Regions from separate parts of the Homo sapiens genome. Here region 2 is linked to region 1. The links are contacts of gene promoters, found by promoter capture Hi-C in human tissues and cell types (Jung and others, 2019). All regions are on one chromosome and are shown on one strand. Each heading gives the region's core, a stretch centred on a gene start or on the middle of the fragment in contact. The rest is flanking DNA. Distances are from core to core; before and after follow the strand shown. Region 1 holds the start of TMEFF2 (transmembrane protein with EGF like and two follistatin like domains 2). Region 2 has its middle 580 kb from the start of PCGEM1.

What was found. Contacts are between HindIII fragments. The study calls those that stand out against the background at their distance.
Region 2: a fragment that was not itself captured here is called in contact with the fragment with the promoter of TMEFF2 in region 1 in 1 of the 25 tissues and cell types used here (dorsolateral prefrontal cortex).

The regions. Positions count from the first base shown.
Region 1 is chr2:192,192,321-192,196,945 of GRCh38, forward strand. TMEFF2 (transmembrane protein with EGF like and two follistatin like domains 2) reads right to left here and starts at 2,613. Exons shown (of 10, transcript NM_016192.4): 1 at 2,033-2,613. The coding sequence starts at 2,204. RefSeq lists an enhancer at 2,559-3,134. The HindIII fragment of the contact is 5,375 bases long and covers 1,516-4,625 here.
Region 2 is chr2:193,327,362-193,331,786 of GRCh38, forward strand. No RefSeq gene overlaps it. Among named protein-coding and RNA genes, the nearest start is that of PCGEM1, 580 kb to the left of the region's middle. The HindIII fragment of the contact is 3,612 bases long and covers 1,144-4,425 here.

The sequences.
Region 1 (4,625 bases), core at 1,363-3,862:
AGGTGGACAATATTTATGACCACAAAACTCCACATTTTGGAAAAGAGCTAGTGATGATCTCTGAATACCCTTTTACCATTTCCCCATCTTTAATTGTTCTTTTGCTTCAACGACTGAAACAACCCCTTATTTGAAATGTATCCAGACAAAGAGGAAACAAAGCCTCAATAATAAAGATAAACAGGCACAGTGTTTTCTGTGATGGTCTGTTTGGCTCAAATGAAGATTGATCACCTCTAAGTTAACAGGGGTGGAAGCGGGGTGCCAAGTTCTTGACAACCTATCTGCAAAACCAGTTTATTCTCTTTAGTTTATGCAGTCCCCTTTAAAATATCTGGTAAATATGTAATTTCTTGATTGCAAATGTCAACTTCACATTTAAGTTAGTTATTTCCTAAAACAATGCAAGGGCTAGGAATGAAGCAAACCAGTCTGTGTTGGACTACAAAGCCATCAACATTTCCAAAAATTGTTTTTGCAGGCTCATAATTATTACCATAATAAAGCATCTAAAAAGTGATTAGGCAATAGCAAAGTGAAACTTATTCTTTCAAAAACAACACACATGTACGCATGAATCAAGAAGTTATAGAAACATGTTGAGTTTTATTAAAATGCCAAATTTAGAAACTGCCAAAAAAGAGAACAATCTATTGACCCAAATCTAATAGGGTTGCATATCTCAACTTGTCTTTGTAAAGGATAAATTAGAATGATGCATAATAATTTTCCTTTTGGCATTTACATCAGTAATAACTAGGAACTATACAGGCTTTCACCCTGAGTTACAGTTGGTCATTCCCTCCTCTCTAAAGTTACATACACTTCAGCTTATATACATCTTTGAAAGACACTTTATTCAGAGCCAGATTTAACTACAGCAAAATTATATTCACAGAAGATGAAAAATTACATACACACTTGCTAAAACTAGAACAGACCACACCTAGGGGACAATACCCAGGCATGTTAACGGAGTTTAAAATGCCAAGGAAATTACACCACAATTCTGCCCAGTATACTACAGGCTGTCAAACCGAAATGCTATGCCAGCTAGGAGTGCAGCAACTCCCATCCTCTGGCCCTATTTAATTAGGAAGCTTCAGCAGAGCGAAGCCTGCCAAGCGTTCGCCGTCAGAATCTGAAGGAACCCGAGCGAGCAAGAAGAGTGCCTGACCCACTCCACAGAAGCCTGTCCAGAAATGGAGGAGTCAGCGCCCACTGAAGTCGGTTCCGCCCTCGGCTCGCCTACATGGAGCCTGACCAGCCTCAGTCATGCCCACTCCGGCCTGGGAGACCCGCAAAGTGTTCTTTTTCTCAACTCCCCTGTACTACCTTGAAGCTTAGGGAAGCAAAGAGAGGGGCATATCTGGACTGCAAAACCAATGTCTTTTGCCGCCTAGGAGAGAAGGGAATGAGAGAGAGAGAGAGATAGATAGATAGAGAGAGAGAGAGAGAGAGAGAGAGAGAGAGAGAGAGAGAGAGAGAAATTCTATTGAAACCCAGCTCCTCTAGAATCTGTGTGACCTGGTCTTCAACGGGAGACCAGTGCGACCTCATGGCACCTTTGCCAGGAATCAGCGATTCCCCTGCAGTCACCATTTGATTTATTGCTTTCTCGCTCATTCTTTCTCATAAAGTTATTTCTTCCTCATCCTAGTAAGACTTTTTTCTTTAATGATGACAAAGCTTCTGTTTCAGTGTTTCCCCTAGGATTGGTGCTCTTTCAAAACAGTGAACCCAGAAAACCATCCCGTTTAATATTTCTCAAAATCCTCGCAGCTCCAATGTAAGCGCAAGCATGCAAAGGTTTCCTGCTACACCTGCACTTTCTGCCCATCCCAGAACCACCCCTCACCCCCGGGCCTGCAACAGTTCCCCTTGTTTCTCTGGATAGAGGTGGGTGGTATTAGGGGTCTAGGGCAGTAGGAGGTGAGGGGCTGAGGAGGCGCGCTAGGGTAGGCTGGTCTGTGCTGGATACGCGTGTTCTTCTGCGGAGTTAAAGGGTCGGGGACGGGGGTTCTGGACTTACCAGAGCAATTCCAGCCGGTGGGCGTTTGGCAGTCACTTAAGGAGGTAGGGAAAGCAGCGAGCTTCACCGGGCGGGCTACGATGAGTAGCATGACGGGCAGCAGCAGCAGCCAGCAAAAGCCCTCGCAAAGTGTCCAGCTGCTGCACTGCCGCGGGGACTCCCACAGCACCATGACTAGTTCGTGCAACTCTGCAGCAGCAAACGGCTTCCGAGGAACACAGGATCGCGGGGGCCGGGCAGCGGGCTACTGAGCATCCCGCGGACGGCGGCAGCAGAGGCGGCGGCGGTGGCAGTGGCACCCGGCGGGGAAGCAGCAGCCAAACCCGCGCATGATCTCGAGAGTTTCAGCAACATCCAGGGACTGGGCTCAGCCCCGGAGCGAGAGGGTCGTCCGCTGAGAAGCTGCGCCGGAGACGCGGGAAGCTGCTGCCATAAGGAGGGAGCTCTGGGAAGCCGGAGGACAGGAGGAGACGGGAGTCCAGGGGCAGACGAGTGGAGCCCGAGGAGGCAGGGTGGAGGGAGAGTCAAGGCGCCCCGCAGCCCGGCAGCCGCCTCTCGAGCTCTGCCGCCCGCATCCCTCTGGCGTTTGGGAAGCAGCAGGTCCTCAGCCCGCCCGGGGTCACGTGGGAAGAGGCAGTCGGGCTCTGATTGGTGGAGCAGGATGCAGGTCCCGGGAGGGAGGGGTCGACGAGGAGGTGCAAGGATGCAAGGAGGAGGCGGCCGCGGAAGCCACAGATGGGCTCGCTCGCCAGGCGCTGGCCCGAGTGGGGCTAGGCGGGGATGGCTCAAATGAGAAGCTCGGGCTTCAGGGTGGGCTACCCGCACACTCATATACCATTCGCCTCACTCTCCGCTCCAGGACGCCCCCTACCGAAGGCGGGGTCCGGACTAGCGCCCCTCTTCCGCGCGTGACCCCGGGCCGCGAGTGCGGGCCGCGGCTGGGTGGCGTCTCTCCGAGCTGGAGATGGTGGGGGCGGAGGTGTCAGAGGAGCAGCAGCAGCAGGGCAGAGAGGGGCGAGTCGGCGCGGGAGAGGGCGTCCTGCTGGCGACCGGCGCTCCAGCGTGCGGGAGCGCGCCGCCTAGGCTGTAGGGGGATGCAGGCTGGGAATGTCGCGGCGGAGAGGCCAGGGACGTTTCTCTAGGGATTTACAGGAAAGAGGGTGAGAGGCGATGGTGTTAGAACCGCTCTTGCCGACCTGGAAGCAACAGCAGCATCTCCCACAAGAGCGTGCAACCCCAAGGCTGCTCGCCGAGGCAGCTCAGCCATCCCGGCAGGCGCTCTCCTTCCTTCTCTCTTCTCCCCTCTCTCCTCCCAGGCCCCCCGCAGCTCCGACCCAGCCCAAGCGTTCGCAGGTTTGAATCCCTCTCCTCATCACCCGCTCCTCTCCAGCCCGTAGCCTATTAGTGTGTCCACCTGGGAGGTGCGGTCAGATGTGTTTGGAAGGTCAGATTGGTCGGGACAAGTGGTCTGAGAGAAAGAGAAAGGCTCCTCTGCATACGCCGCGGGTGGGTTGCCGGGAGCATCGGCCGGGCAGCGGCGTCCGGGAAGGGGAGAGCGGGCTCCATTTGTTGGCCCAGGCAGTGACCCTGCGTTCCTTACTCGGGTCTTTGCCGGATGGCCGGTGACCTGGGGCGACGAGAGAAGGTCTAACTCGGCAGGAGTCTCTGGCTCTGCGCGTTTCTTTCATTCTCTCCAGCGGGAAGGGCAAACGGCATAGCGGGACCCGCCTTCCGTCTGCTGCATTCTTCAGGCAGTTAGACACACTCTTTAGCCTAATGGAATTTTAGTCGCCAGTAACGGGACCAAGAGCTTTCGGGGACAAGGGTGGAGAGGAACATCTTTCTTCCATGACCGGGGTCACTATTGCAGTCTCAGTGTTTTGGATGCCCCATAGGGAAGAGCTTTCTTTTTGGTGTGTGATTATTCAGTGATTCCTGTTTTTGTTTTTGTTTATCTTCTCTCCGCTCTCCTTCTCTATTCCTCTCTGTTATCCCTCCTCCTTCTTCTCCCCCCGCTTTCAAAAGCCTCCGGATCCTCCCTTTTTCTATTTAAATTCTCCTTTTGTGCCCCTCTTTCTGTGTCCCCTGAATTTAGGAGAGCATTTGATAACATTTAACAGGCAATTAGTGTCCATTCCCAATCACTTAAAAGAGGCATTCATATACTTTGAAAACGGGACTATCTATCCTTTGCAGACACCAGCAGAAAAACAAATTGTACCCGAGTAATCCTTTTAAGTACTTTAACCTCCAACCTCCTCCCACTTCCTTGCTTTTTAACTTCTCCTTTGAGAGATGTGATCGTGCAGCACCTCAGTGCCTCAACGAAATCTTTTTTTTTTTCCTGTGTGAAATCCATCCCTTTATCTTACATCTCCGCCTCCGTCCGAGACTGTCCCTCTCCCCTCCCACCTCCAAAGATTTCTGAATCTCAGTGTCTCTCACTCCTGGCAATTAAGCAGCAGATCCCAGCATTCTAGTCGGTGGCATCTCGCTCCTCACCGACGAAGACTCCATTAAAACAGATCAATTAGACCAGACGTTGGAGGCATCAGAAAATCGGCTTCTAGACAGAGCAGCTAAATTCTTTAAG
Region 2 (4,425 bases), core at 1,700-4,199, 1.1 Mb after region 1:
AACTAATAAATATGAATGAATTTCCCAGTTTAGAATATTATCACTTTAAATGAATAACAGTATAGCTCCAGAATCTAAAATGATTGACCATATGTGTATATATACAAGTGTATGTGTGTGTGTATGTTTATAATAATTAATATATTGTTATATAATTAATTGATTATAAAATTGATATATTGTTATATATCACACACACATATATATGTATATCCTTGTAGTAGAAGGAGAACCGGTATAAAATTCAATATTTTCTAATTTTATACAAATATTATATTAAATAAATGCTTAACATCCTGATGAAAACAAATACATTTTGAAACAATATCATGATCATAAAAATATAAAACAAAGGAGTAATAATTTATATTGCACATAGAGAAGAGGTTAGAAATTCCTATGGTGTCTTAGTGATGGTGAAATAAATCATGATAAATGCAGTCTTATTTTTTACAAAAAATAGGATGTTTCCTTAGTGGCACATGTTCCACTAAATCATTTGCTGTTTTTTTTTTTCATTAACTTTTTTTAACTATCCTAATCTATACTTTTATAATCAATTAATTCTTAGCTTGCTTATTTCAAACCAAGAACATGTATTAGTTAGTCTATAAGTTGGAGTGAGGCTGTATAAATTAGAAAAAACTGGGGCACATAGGCTATTTTCTAATTGTATAAAATAATACAAACTATTTTTATCTAAATCAATACATATGAATTGAACAAACCAATATGAGGAGAGCAATCTTTGTCTATTCAGAATAAAATTGAAAAATTTTTCCTTTGTTTGTAAAAGTATTGCTTCGTTTGTAAAAATATTCCTTTGTTTGTACAATATTCAGTGGCAGAAATGGTCTCTAAACTAAACCTCTCCTTCCCACAGATTTCACACATCTTTATCACACAGAACTATCTCTTTTCAATAATCTTTTTTGTTATAGTGCCAGGGAATATTATTTATTGCACTCACAATAGCAGTCAAGCCAGCACACTGAAACAAAATAATTTATATTTTAGTAGTTAGATATGGTGACAAAGTGTAATATTGGAGATTTGATCTGACACTAAACATTTAAGTGCACTTTATGGTTTAGCTGTTGTATTGATAGAATTACAGGCAACTTAAGTGATTAAGTTTGTGACAGGTATAAGAAACAAATGGTAAATAATGATATAAAAAACATTAATAGTTTTAACAACTACAATTTTATTCACGGTGAATCATATTTCAGTTTTCTGACCCATATGCCACATCTTAATTCATTTTTATCATTCCATTTTGATGTAACCAAAATAGTAATACGAAGAATTTAGGGGAAGTTGGATATCGTATGTTAAGGGGTGTGTGTGTATGCATGCACAATATTAATACAATACATACAATAAATTATTGTAAGTAAAAATGGTCTAATGACATTACTCATTCTGAAAACTCTTTTATGAAACCATTTTGAATATTTCTCCAAATATGTTAGATTGCCCTTCAAAAAGACATTCTAATATTGTTCATATTTTTATTGCAAAGAGAAACAATTTAGGTAGATATATAATGTACACATACAGTTTTGTTGTAGACCAATTTTGTCCTCCCAAAATTGATATGTGAAGCATTAACCCACAAGTGGCTGTATTTGGAGACAGGGCCTTTAGGCAGGTTACTAAGGTTAAAGGAAATCGTAAGGGTGAATCCTAATCCAATAGGACATGCGTCCTTATAAAAAAAGAAAGAGACATCAGAGCTCTCTTTCTTCACCTGTGCACAGAGGAAAGGCCACATGAGGACACAGCAAGAAGGCAGCTGTCTGTCTGCCAGGAAGAAACCTCACCAGAAACTAACCATGCTAGTACCTTGATCTTGGACTTCTAGCCTCTGGAACTCAGAGAGAATAAATTGGTGTGGTTTCCCCTTCTCAATCTGTGGTATTATATAATAGCAATCCAAGCAGACTGAGACAGATTTTGGTACTAGGAGTGGGATGCTGCTGTAACAAGCACCTAAAAATGTGGCTTTGGGTTTGGGTGGGTGATGGGTATAGATTGGAAAATTTTGAAGTGCATTCTAAAATATGGTTAGATTCCCTTGAAGAGATTATTGGTAGAAATGTGAATGTTAAAGGTGATTCTGATGAGATTTCAAAAGGAAATAAGAGACGTGCTATGAGAAACTGAAGGAAAGATGACCCGTGTTATAAAGTGGCAAAGAACTTGGCTGAACTATGTTATAGTGTTTTGTGGAAAGTAGAACTTAAAAGCAAAGAAGTTATATATTTAGCTAATGAAATTTCTAAGCAAAGAGTTAAAGATATCGCCTGATTTCTCTTTATTGCTTATAGTAAAGTATAGGATAAGAAAAATAAATTAAATAAATTGTTAACCATAAGGAAACCAGAACTAAAAGATTTGGGAAAATCTCAGTTATCCATACTGCAAAAAAATGAAATATGTGTTTTAAAGAAAACTCCAAAGATGTGGCTGGATAACCACTCCCTAAGGTGGCTATCCATGGAGTTAATCAGCCATTTCAACAGAGGCAGGAAGAGTGATGGGATGATATAAGCACAGTCACTGTCAGTTTCACCAAGGGGAAACTAGTATCATGAGATACTAGGCCACCAATTATTATGGTTCCTATAGGTGTTCAATTACTTTAAAAGCTTTTTATTAAATATGAATGAATTACATTACTATGCATGGTGGAGAGTTGGTAGTTAACTACATTCTGCCATAGCTTTGTTAGGAATCAGCTTGGATTGTGAATTAGTGGGAATGTAAATTAGTTCAACCATTGTGGAAGACAGTGTGGCAATTCCTCAAAGAGCTAAAGACATAAATACCATTTGACACAGCAATCCCATTACTAGATATATACCCAAAGGAATATAAATTGTTGTATTATATAGACACATGTGTGCATAAGTTCATTGCAGCACTATTCACAAAAGCAAATACATGAAATCAATCTCAATGTCTATCAGTGATAGACTAGAAAAAAAATGTAGTACACATACATGGTAGAATACTAGGGAGCCATAAAAAAGAAGGATATCATGTTCTTTGCGGGGACATGGATGAGCTGGAGACCATTATCTTTAGCAAACCAACACAGGAACAGAAAACCAAATACCGCGTGTTCTCACTAAGTGGGAGCTAAATGATAAAAACACATGGAGGCATAGAGGGGGATAACACACACTGGGGACTACTGGAGACTGGAGGGTGGGAGGAGGGGGAGGATCAGGAAAAATAACTAATTGGTACTAGGCTTAATACTTGGGTGATGAAATAATCTGTACAACAACCCCCCATGACACAAGTTTATGTATGTAACAAACCTGCACTTTTACCCCTGAACTTAAAATAAAAGTTTAAAAAAATGAAGGGGAAAACATACACACACATGTACACACACACATACACACACACAAGAATCAGAAGTATTAAAATGAATGTGCTTATTTAAAAATACAGTAAGAAATTTCACTTTCTGTGCTTTGTAAATGTTAGCATATTTAATATTTTGAAATAGCTTTATTGGATGCTGATAATTTCTCCTAAGAAAGACCCTCAAAATTGTCATATTGTGCTGAAGTATGTCTTTTGCCCCCAAAAAAAAAAAAAAAACATGAAAATCACACACGACATACTCTGCATAAAACGTTATCTCGAAATAATTTTTTTTTTTTTGAGATGGAGTTTCGCTCTTGTTGCCCAGGCTGGAGTGCAATGGCGCGATCTCGGCTCACTGCAACCTCCACCTCCCAGGTTCAAGCAATTCTCCTGCCTCAGCCTCCCGAGTAGCTGGGATTACAGGCATGCACCACCATGCCCGGTTAATTTTGTATTTTTAGTAGACCTGGGGTTTCTCCATGTTGAGGCCGGTCTCGAACTCCTGACCTCAAGTGATCTGCCCGCCTCAGCCTCCCAAAGTGCTGGGATTACAGGCGTGAGCCACTGCGCCCGGCCCCAGATAAATTTGTAAAGCTGCTTTATGATTAATCCGGAGTAAAACTTGCCAGTTCTACTGACCACCATAGGCATTCAAGATCCCACGGCACTCTTTGAAAAACCAAAGGTATTAACTCTGCAGTTCTGGCCTTACTCCAAATCTATTAATTAAATTCTTCCTACCTTATATTCCCCACATATTTCCAATTAGAAAAATTATTTTTTCATTTCTTTTTGATATTGCTTTTGGGAAGTAGTTCTGGCACAAATCTCCTGTATATGTTCTCCCTTGGAATTTCACTTTTCAACACAGTTTGAAATTTGGAATCGATGACATCTTTATATTTAAGGTGTGCCACCATCTAATAAACTGTGGCAACGTGCACTATTGGACGTTGCATAGAAAATTTCGTTCAGCCAATATGTGGTATCTTGCTTATATTTTTTCATTTCTTAATCATAAAACATCATGAGAGAAGA